2 separate regions of the Homo sapiens genome follow, and region 2 is linked to region 1. The links are contacts of gene promoters, found by promoter capture Hi-C in blood cells and fetal thymus (Javierre and others, 2016). All regions are on one chromosome and are shown on one strand. The core of a region is centred on a gene start or on the middle of the fragment in contact, and the rest is flanking DNA. Distances in the headings are between cores, read along the strand shown.

Region 1 (4,232 bases), core at 1,010-3,509:
AAACAACCATTAACTCACTACAATAATATATTAATCCGTGAAAGATTTGTTACCCACTAAAATAGGGCATGAGAAAAATTTTCCTATTATAATTTTTAAAAAAAGTCAATTACTAGTAAGAAGCTACAGGTCAGATATTTGAAAACTACAACGAAAACCATCCTTACTCCTCCCCCACCCGCTTGGATGTCATCAGAAATTCTGAGTAAGAGTAGGCCAAGTTAGGATATCATGTGGGTGGGGATTTACCCACATTCACCGGAAAAGCAGTGGGATACAGGTTTTACTTGTTCCGGTCAAACCTCCCTTCCCCCTCACCTCCCAAATAATTAAGGCTTTAGCTATGTGCTCAGTCCTTTACTATCAAAAAAAAAAAAAAAAAAAGAGAGAGAGAAAAGAAAAGTTCAAGTACAGAATTATTTTTAGATTATAGTCCGCTTAGAGATGAACTATTTGAATAAGGTTTCTACTTTTGGAAAGCGGAGAAAACTAGGTAGTAAAGCCTCTATTTCCCTTCTAAGAGTAAACTTTTTAATCCAATTTGATGATTACCTTAATATCTCTACTACATGAATTTAAGATAACACTGTATCACTAAAGTAAATGAAATTAGCAAGCGTTAATCACGTCTTAACAGCTAGCCAATCTTAGTGGATTGAAATTAAGTCAATTTACAAACTGTTTTCCTGTGATGGAGTAACACTTAATACAGGTGTTTCCACTTAATCCAATTCATTCTGTAATTCACATTATACACCTACTATGTTTGAAGGTCTGAATCAAAAAGGAGTGTACCCGTACGGTGGGGAAGGCATTTATTGGGAGGGGAGGACATGGAATCATGGCCCTAATCCATTTAAAATAATGAAAAATACTGATTAAATATCTATAAACTTTCCCGGGGAATCCCAGTAGAACAGAACATGGTTTTATAAGCTGAGGGTAAAAACAAGCGTCTCAGTTTTTTTATTAAAAGAACTTTTTTAAACTGCCTTTCAACAGTTTGAAAGCTTTCAATGGTTTGTTTTATCTGGTGTTTCTGATCAACCAATTAATCCATCCTCTGACAGGAACCCATCTGTCAGTCTATCCACACACAATCTGAAAGGGACTCCAGATTAGGCTCCCTCTTTTAGCCACGCCTACACAGGAAGCATCCTGTGGATGGAATGGAAAGTATGCCAGGCCTTTGCACGCCCCTCACGCCCCCATCTCCTTCGCTTAACCTCGACAGCCTCTTACCTTTAAACCCTAGCTAGGTTTTCACACAGCCCTATCAAATAAAAAGGACAATACTCAAACTGAATTAGAGAATGAGAATTGTCGAGGTTTCTTTTAATTTAGATCAATGCCAGTTTTACTCTTCTTCTAGAGTCCTTTTTAAGGAGATATCATCCCCACCAGTTGTGATCCCAGAGAATCACAACAGGGCATGGCGTAGGAAAGACCTCGAAGCTCAATTCTCTATTATACCATGCCCACCATACGAAAGGCATTTAACCTCCCGCGTGATTTTGTCCTTAAGATGCTCCACAAGATCTAACACAACTCCTACATCTAAGAGTCGACTCACTAATTTCAAGGGTTTTTGTTTTTGTTTTTGTTTTTATAAGCTCTGCGTGTGGCACCCGATAACTTCAAGTTTAGAGTGAGCAGTTTCCTCCCAATGCCGTTTGCTCAACTACAGTACTAGGAGTTTTGAGGAGCAGCTCTCTAGCGAGTCCTCCTGCTGCGTCCTCCCCCACACGCACGCACCAAGTTCCACAGCTTCCGCAGCCGTCGGGGAACAAAGTCCTTATTTGGTCACGGCCATCCCCTTACATAGTGGAGGTGGAGATCCTCCTCTCCAAGGACCACCCGCGTAGGGCGAGATTCCCCAATTCTGACTTTTCACTACTATCCCCCACAGGGGCGGGGCTCCAACTCCAGGTAACCAGACCAGGCAACCTGGACTTCCAATTAGCAGGGGAGTCCCCAAGCCAGCCTGGCCAATCTCGGCCGGCTAGCCAAGACGACCAGACGTGACGTCAGACATGATTAAGTTGGCGCGTCACCTAGACGTCAGCCTCTTACCTCTCGGACGTCCCGTCCCAGGAGCAAAACTCTAGTGACTTTGGGCCCGCCCCCGTGAGAGTGGAGGGCGGCCGATGAGGGCGGTTCTGAAGGGAACAAGACCAATGAGACGAGCCCGGGGCGGGGCGCGGGGCCGGAGGGTGGGGCGGGTGGCGGCGGTGGCAGTCCGAGGTCTGGCTCCGCGCAGTATATGACAGTACGTCAGCAGCGGGATGGCCCTAGCAGTGGCGGCGGCTGCAGAAGCCCAAGCAGCCGCGGCCGCAGTGGAGGCTAGAGCCGGAGCGGCGGCGGCGGCGGCACCCCGGGGAGTTTAAGATGGCGGCGGGGGGGACAGGGGGCCTGCGGGAGGAGCAGCGCTATGGGCTGTCGTGCGGACGGCTGGGGCAGGACAACATCACCGTACTGCATGTGAAGCTCACCGAGACGGCGATCCGGGCGCTCGAGACTTACCAGAGCCACAAGGTGAGCGGGCCGGCCGGCAGGCTGGGCTCAGAGAGGCAGAGCGCACCCCTCACGGCCTGGCCGCGCCCGGGTGCGGGGCCGGCGGAGCCGTGGCTGGCAGCTGCTACCGTCAGCGCCCGCAGCGGCCAGGCAGGGCAGGGCCGGGCAGGGTGGCTGACGCCGCGGTCCCGGGCTAGCCTGGGCGTTGGGGAAGCGGGCAGTCGGGCGGCCCCTGGCGGCGGGGCCGAGGCAGCCGCAGCCCTGGGTCGGCTGCGCTGCCGCTGCGGGACTTTCCGACGGCCCCCGAGGATTTCCTGGCTTGTTGGGTCCCAAGGAGGGAGAGAGGCCCCGATAAGAGAAGTGAGATGACCACGCTACCCTCGGCGGGGAAGGAGGGTAGCGAGCAGCGTATGGGCAAGGAACCAGGGACGACTCGCGGGCACCAGCTGCCCGCGTTTTCCAGTTACATAGGCACGGTGGATCCTCAGAGACAGGACACAGGCGCTCCGCGTGTGGGGGTGGGACCTTGTATTCCCAGGGACTTGGGGACACAGGCGCTCCACGTATCAGGGGACACACTGTGTGCTCGAAGGGATGGGGACTCGGGCGCATGGTGAGGGGCACACGGTGTACTCATAGAGATAGGGACTTAGGCAGTCCGTGTAAGGGGGCGGCGCACACTGGAACGGCGGGGACACTGGCGCTTCGCGTACGGGGGGGGAGGGGACACACCTGCATTCCCAGGGACTCCGGGACACCGGCGCATCGCGTTACTGGAGACGCGCCGCGTCCAGGACGGACACAAACCAACACAGTGCCCTGGGGAGAGACCTGAGGACTCACGCACACTTAGCGCTCCCCGGGAGCAAGACATCGGGTTCTGGAGAGAGAGGTTCACGGACGCTCAACGTACCCGAAAAAGCTCCCGGCGTCTTGGGCTGACTCTGGGAAGTGTAAACGGGGAACGAGCCAGAGCCAGAAGGTGTGGGGAGGATACAATGCATCCCGGGCAGAGACTCGGGCCTCTCACCCCTCGTTTTCGAGAGAAGCCCATGGACACACACACACACATATACACACACACCCCTCCAGTACAGAGAGAGGCTCAGATAGGCGCACATACACTGTAATTGGACTACAAATCCAGACGCTTTCATGTTGGAAAAAAAATGGGAGAGACAGGGAAGCACCGAGAAGGGACGCGGTAACCAGGGTGCATGGGGAAACAGTTTATGGACATGCAGTACTGTGGGAGACCGGAGTGGATACATCGCGTGAGGGAGGGATATGCCATATGGGGGAACCTGTAACGTTTTACAGGAGAGGAGAGAGTCGGAAGGGAGATAGAACCCACGGGGCATCTTACAAATAGCCCGTTCGGTACTGAGGAACACACTCCAACCGGTCTCGTACAACAGACAGAGGGGCAGAAGGACACCGAGACACAGATTCACATAGTTATTCAGCTAAAAGTGGGGAAAAGAATTGACATCTGTTGAGCTCCCACTAGTGCCAGGCACTTTAAATACATAGAGCGAAGGCAGAGTCTGAGGCAGAGCGGCAGGAGAGGTGTGAACCCTGGTTTACTGGGAGTGTATTCAGAGAGCCCCCCCACCCCATAAGTGTGCACACAGAGGAAGGCATTAGTTGTGCACGCTTTGGATAGAAAATGAACTCACATGATAGGGTATTTGTAAACAGCAGTGGAGGCTCAGAGG
Region 2 (4,232 bases), core at 1,188-3,687, 260 kb before region 1:
CCTTCTCTGACTAATATCATACCGACAAAGGGCATCACGGAATGTTGGTTTCTCTGCTGCAGAATGACTGAAATCTTGGTACTTTTGTTTCAAACAACTTACTAAACTCAAGAAAGACTCTCAGAAAAAAAGGATGTCAGGTAGTCTCACTAAATAGCCAACTAAGCTTAGAACTATTTAGAAACAAAATGAATCAAACAAGTTGAATCACTTCAGATGGTCACTTACTCGTCACAAATATTTTAAGTAGCACAGCTCCAACTGAGTGATGTCTTATTCATCAAAAAATGTCTTACAGAAATAATGTTTGAAACAGAGTCAGAAGGCCTAGCTTCTATGCCAGACTCTGTCACTAACCAAGTATAATTTTAGGAAAGATGTTTAAATGCTTTGGGTATCAGTTTCTTTTTTCTGTGAAATGAAGAGTTGATAATCTAGATAATTTCAAAGGTTTATTCCTCCTCACAAACATTTCCATTAAAATATTCTATTCTTTACCATGGTCATGTTAACATTTACATAACATGTTCTGAATAGCTCAATTAATTATAGGTAAGTCCTAGTGTACTTGAGGGTGTCTTTTACCATCTGAGATTAAAATGCATGAAGAGGGGGCACAAAACATTATAGACACCAGATGGCTGCCACAGCCCGAAGCATCATGTCTTCACAAAGCAATGTTCAAAACAGGAAGGGTAGGAAGAGAGTAGAGACTCCTCTTATATCTTTGTACTAAGGAGACAAACCCTTTTCAGATGCCTCTGAGCAAACTTCTCCTCACGTCCCATTAGCCAGGACTGAGTCACAGACCCACACCATAGCAACAAAGAGGCAGGGAAAACTAGTATTTAGCATTTTCAGTCTCTGTCGTGGGAGACAGGCTTTAACAACAAGGAAGAAAGGGGAAAGGAATGGCTGTTCATTGGGCAACATACAGCATCAGCTTCAGACATCCTGCTCCAAAAGAAAGTGACCTTAAAACCTTTGTACAGGCTCTGACAGACCTTTAGCAGGAGACAGAGTGGGGTCTTCTGTGGAGACAATGAGAAGGAATTTAAGAGATATTAAACATGCCAACCACCTACCTTTCTCTTTCTTTTCCTTTTCTTTTTTCTTTTCTTTCTCTCCTTCCTTCCTTCCTTTCTTCCTTCCTTCCTTCCTGCCTGCCTGCCTTCCTTCCTTCCCTTTCTTGCTTTCTCCTTCCTCCCTCCCTCCTTTCCTTCCTTCCCTTCCTTCCTTCTTTTTATTTGAGACAAGGCCGCACTTTGTTGCCCAGGCCAGAGTGCAGTGGCACAAACATGGCTCACTGAAGCCTTGACCTCCTAGGCTCAAGCAATCCTTCTGCCTCAACCTCCCGAAGTGCTGGGATTACAGGCATGGGCCACCATGCCTGGCCAGGCTGGCAACTTTGACATGGACTAGGCAATGCCACTTATTAGCTGTATAATCTTGGATCAGTTATTTAGTAGCTCTCTGAGGCTCACTTCCTTTATCTATAAAATGGGTATAATGCCTGTCTCATAGGTTTGTGACAGCCACTTTGGGGCTATGAGACAGGGGCAAAATGGATGAGAACCAAAAAATAGTTTTGAATGAAGCGTCTTAGGAAGGCCAGCTCCTGAATGCATAATAGAAGTAGATGGGGAAGAAAAATAAGAGATGTTCTTGAGGAGTGTGATTATGTGCTAAGCCTGAACCTCTATGAGTTCAAGAAATACAAATGAAAATTTTTGGTTAAATTGACATTATATATCTGTCATGACATAGCTCAAACAATTCACCACATGGGCCATGAAATCATACACATAAAAAATAATAGTGATAATACCTCACATTAACTGAGCACTTATCCTGTGCCAGGCATATACTACGTAGCTGTTCTGCACACAGCTTCATTTATTCCTCACAATGCCCCTAAGATAGGAACACCTAATATCTCCACTTTTCACCTGAAGAAACTGAGATTTAGTGACCTTAAGTAACTTGCCAAACACCCCACACAGTACATAACAAAGCAAAGGCTCAAGTTGAGGGCTGCCTGACTCTAAACTTCCCCTGATGTTGACCCACTTGGTGCCTCCCAGTGTGTTCTCCCGGCCTGCTGTGCCTCTCTCTAGTGTCACACTTGCCAGACCTTATTGAAGTGAGCTTTTCACTTGTCTTTCTATCCAGCTCGTCTGAAATATTTGTCTTTGGATCCTAAACCTAGCACATGTAGGAGTTAGATAAGTTTACCAACATAAATTAAATTAATGAACAAATAAACTGGAGGGTCGGCAATATAAAAGAGTGCTGAGTTCAGAAGAGGGGAGGTAGCCACAGGCAGCAGAAGTTGGGAAAGGCTTTGTGGGTGAGGCAGGGCCTTAGCCAAGCTGGAAGAGGAAGAAAACTTAAATGTGTAGGGAAGGTGGAAGAGAAGACTGGGAGAGAAATATTATTTTAGCAAAGGCCAAATGCCTAAAATGTTTTTTGGTTCTAATTCTACCTCTCCAGCAGAATATTTTTAGTTCATTATGCCATAGCATGAATAAATGTAATACATTATTTCCATGTCAGCCAGCCCCTTCTGCTGGACCACAGGCATAATATAGGGCCTCTGCTTCATTATGATCTCCTTCCAGATACAACAATCAACTGAAAATATAAAATTGCATTGAAGGTCAGAAACCCATAGACAGCTTGCATCCAACCACATATACTGCATTTAAAAAAATTCCATAGGAAAACATGGTCAGTGTTCACCTAGTGTGAGTCACATAGCATCCTAAAAACGATAGACTGTAATTTGAACCCATGCAAAACCTTTTAAACAGCTAATATTGCTAGCATCGAAAAAAGCAAACAGTCACTTTTTCTTGATTATTACTACTCAGAGGCCACCCCCCAGAACTTTCAATTAACTGAGGTAGGAGACAAAACACAAGAACGTAAGTATTATTTTCTGAACTTTTCATTGAAATATAGCATACACACAGAAAGTGTACATATTATAAGCGTACAGCTAATGAATTTCACAGTTGAACAGACCCTCGTAACCAATGTCTAGCTCAGGAAAGAACATTCACAGCAAACCATGCCTCATGCCTCATTCCACTCAGCATCCCTAAGGATAACCCTTCTCCTAATTACCAACACCAAAGTTAAGTTTTTCCTGTTTCTGTACTTTAGATATAAAAGATCCTGGAGCCTGTATTATTTTGGGTCTGGCTTCCGTCATTCAGCATTATATTTCTGACACTCATCCATATTGTTGTGCATAGTAATAGATCATCCATTCACATTTTTGTCCAGTAGCTGTTCTCAAAGTGTGGTTCACAAGTGTGATCCAGAAGTAAACTATTTTCATAAGTACAGGAACACATAATTTGCCTTTTTCATTGCACTGATAGCACAAAAGCAATAGTGGGAAAAATGGCTGGTACCTTACCACAAATCAAGGGAGCGGCACCAAATGGTTATAGTCATCACTGTCTTACTTTTCAACACCATGCACTACCAATCAACAGAAAGAAACAATTATTTTCCATAAAGCTAGTTTAACTTAATAATGTTCTTGGTTAAAAAAAAAAAATTTAATTTGGCCACTCGCAGTGGCTGATGCCTATGATCCGAGCACTTTGGGAGGCTGAGGCAGAAGGATCACTTGAAGCCAGAAGTATAGGACCAGCCTGGGCAACAAAGCAAGACCTCATCTCTATAAAAAAAAAAAAAAAAATTAGCTAGCATGGTGGTGTATACCTGTAGTCCCAGCTATTTCAGAGGCTGAGGTAGGAAGATCACTTGAGTCCAGGAGTTCGAGACTACAAGGAGCTATGATTGCACCACTGCACTCCACCTTGGGCAACTGAGTGAGACCTTGTCTCTAAAAAACTAAAAATAAAAAAATAATAATTTTATTACTTCTCAACTCTTGAGTACACATCTTTTTAATATTTTCTGTGTGATGTAAAGTGCTTATAAAATACTTCTGCAACAGAAAGCACAATGGATAAAAAGAGCTCATGAGGAGAATCAGTTGAGTTGTTAAGTTAAACTAGTCACTTTTGTCATGAAAAGCAATTTTATTTAAAGGAATGACGGGAAAACTGTTGTTATTCAGACTTAGGTACTTGGCAAACATTTTCTCAAAAATAAATGAAGTGAGCCTGTAACTTCCAGAAAAGCAACTGTCAGCATTTGATGCTAATGATAAAACTTGAGCTTTCAAACTAAAATTAGAGTTCTGGAAAACA

The links. The method cuts DNA at HindIII sites, captures the fragments that hold promoters and counts their contacts. A CHiCAGO score of 5 or more calls a contact.
Region 2: a fragment that was not itself captured here is called in contact with the fragment with the promoter of ELL2 in region 1 in 4 of 17 cell types (endothelial precursors, M1 macrophages, M2 macrophages and 1 more); the score reaches 7.7 in endothelial precursors.

What each region holds. Positions count from the first base shown.
Region 1 is chr5:95,959,878-95,964,109 of GRCh38, reverse strand. It overlaps ELL2 (elongation factor for RNA polymerase II 2), which reads left to right and starts at 2,259. Exons shown (of 12, transcript NM_012081.6): 1 at 2,259-2,535. The coding sequence starts at 2,389. It overlaps LOC101929710 (a long non-coding RNA gene), which reads right to left and starts at 2,109. Exons shown (of 5, transcript NR_130776.1): 1 at 2,074-2,109. It also overlaps a transcript of CAST not described here. RefSeq lists silencers at 1,703-2,170, 2,126-2,365, 2,436-2,845 and an enhancer at 1,650-2,407. The HindIII fragment of the contact is 3,633 bases long and covers 1,013-4,232 here.
Region 2 is chr5:96,216,688-96,220,919 of GRCh38, reverse strand. The region is part of intron 1 of LOC101929710 (a long non-coding RNA gene); the gene reads right to left. It also overlaps a transcript of CAST not described here. Among named protein-coding and RNA genes, the nearest start is that of MIR583, 140 kb to the right of the region's middle. The HindIII fragment of the contact is 4,538 bases long and covers 169-4,232 here.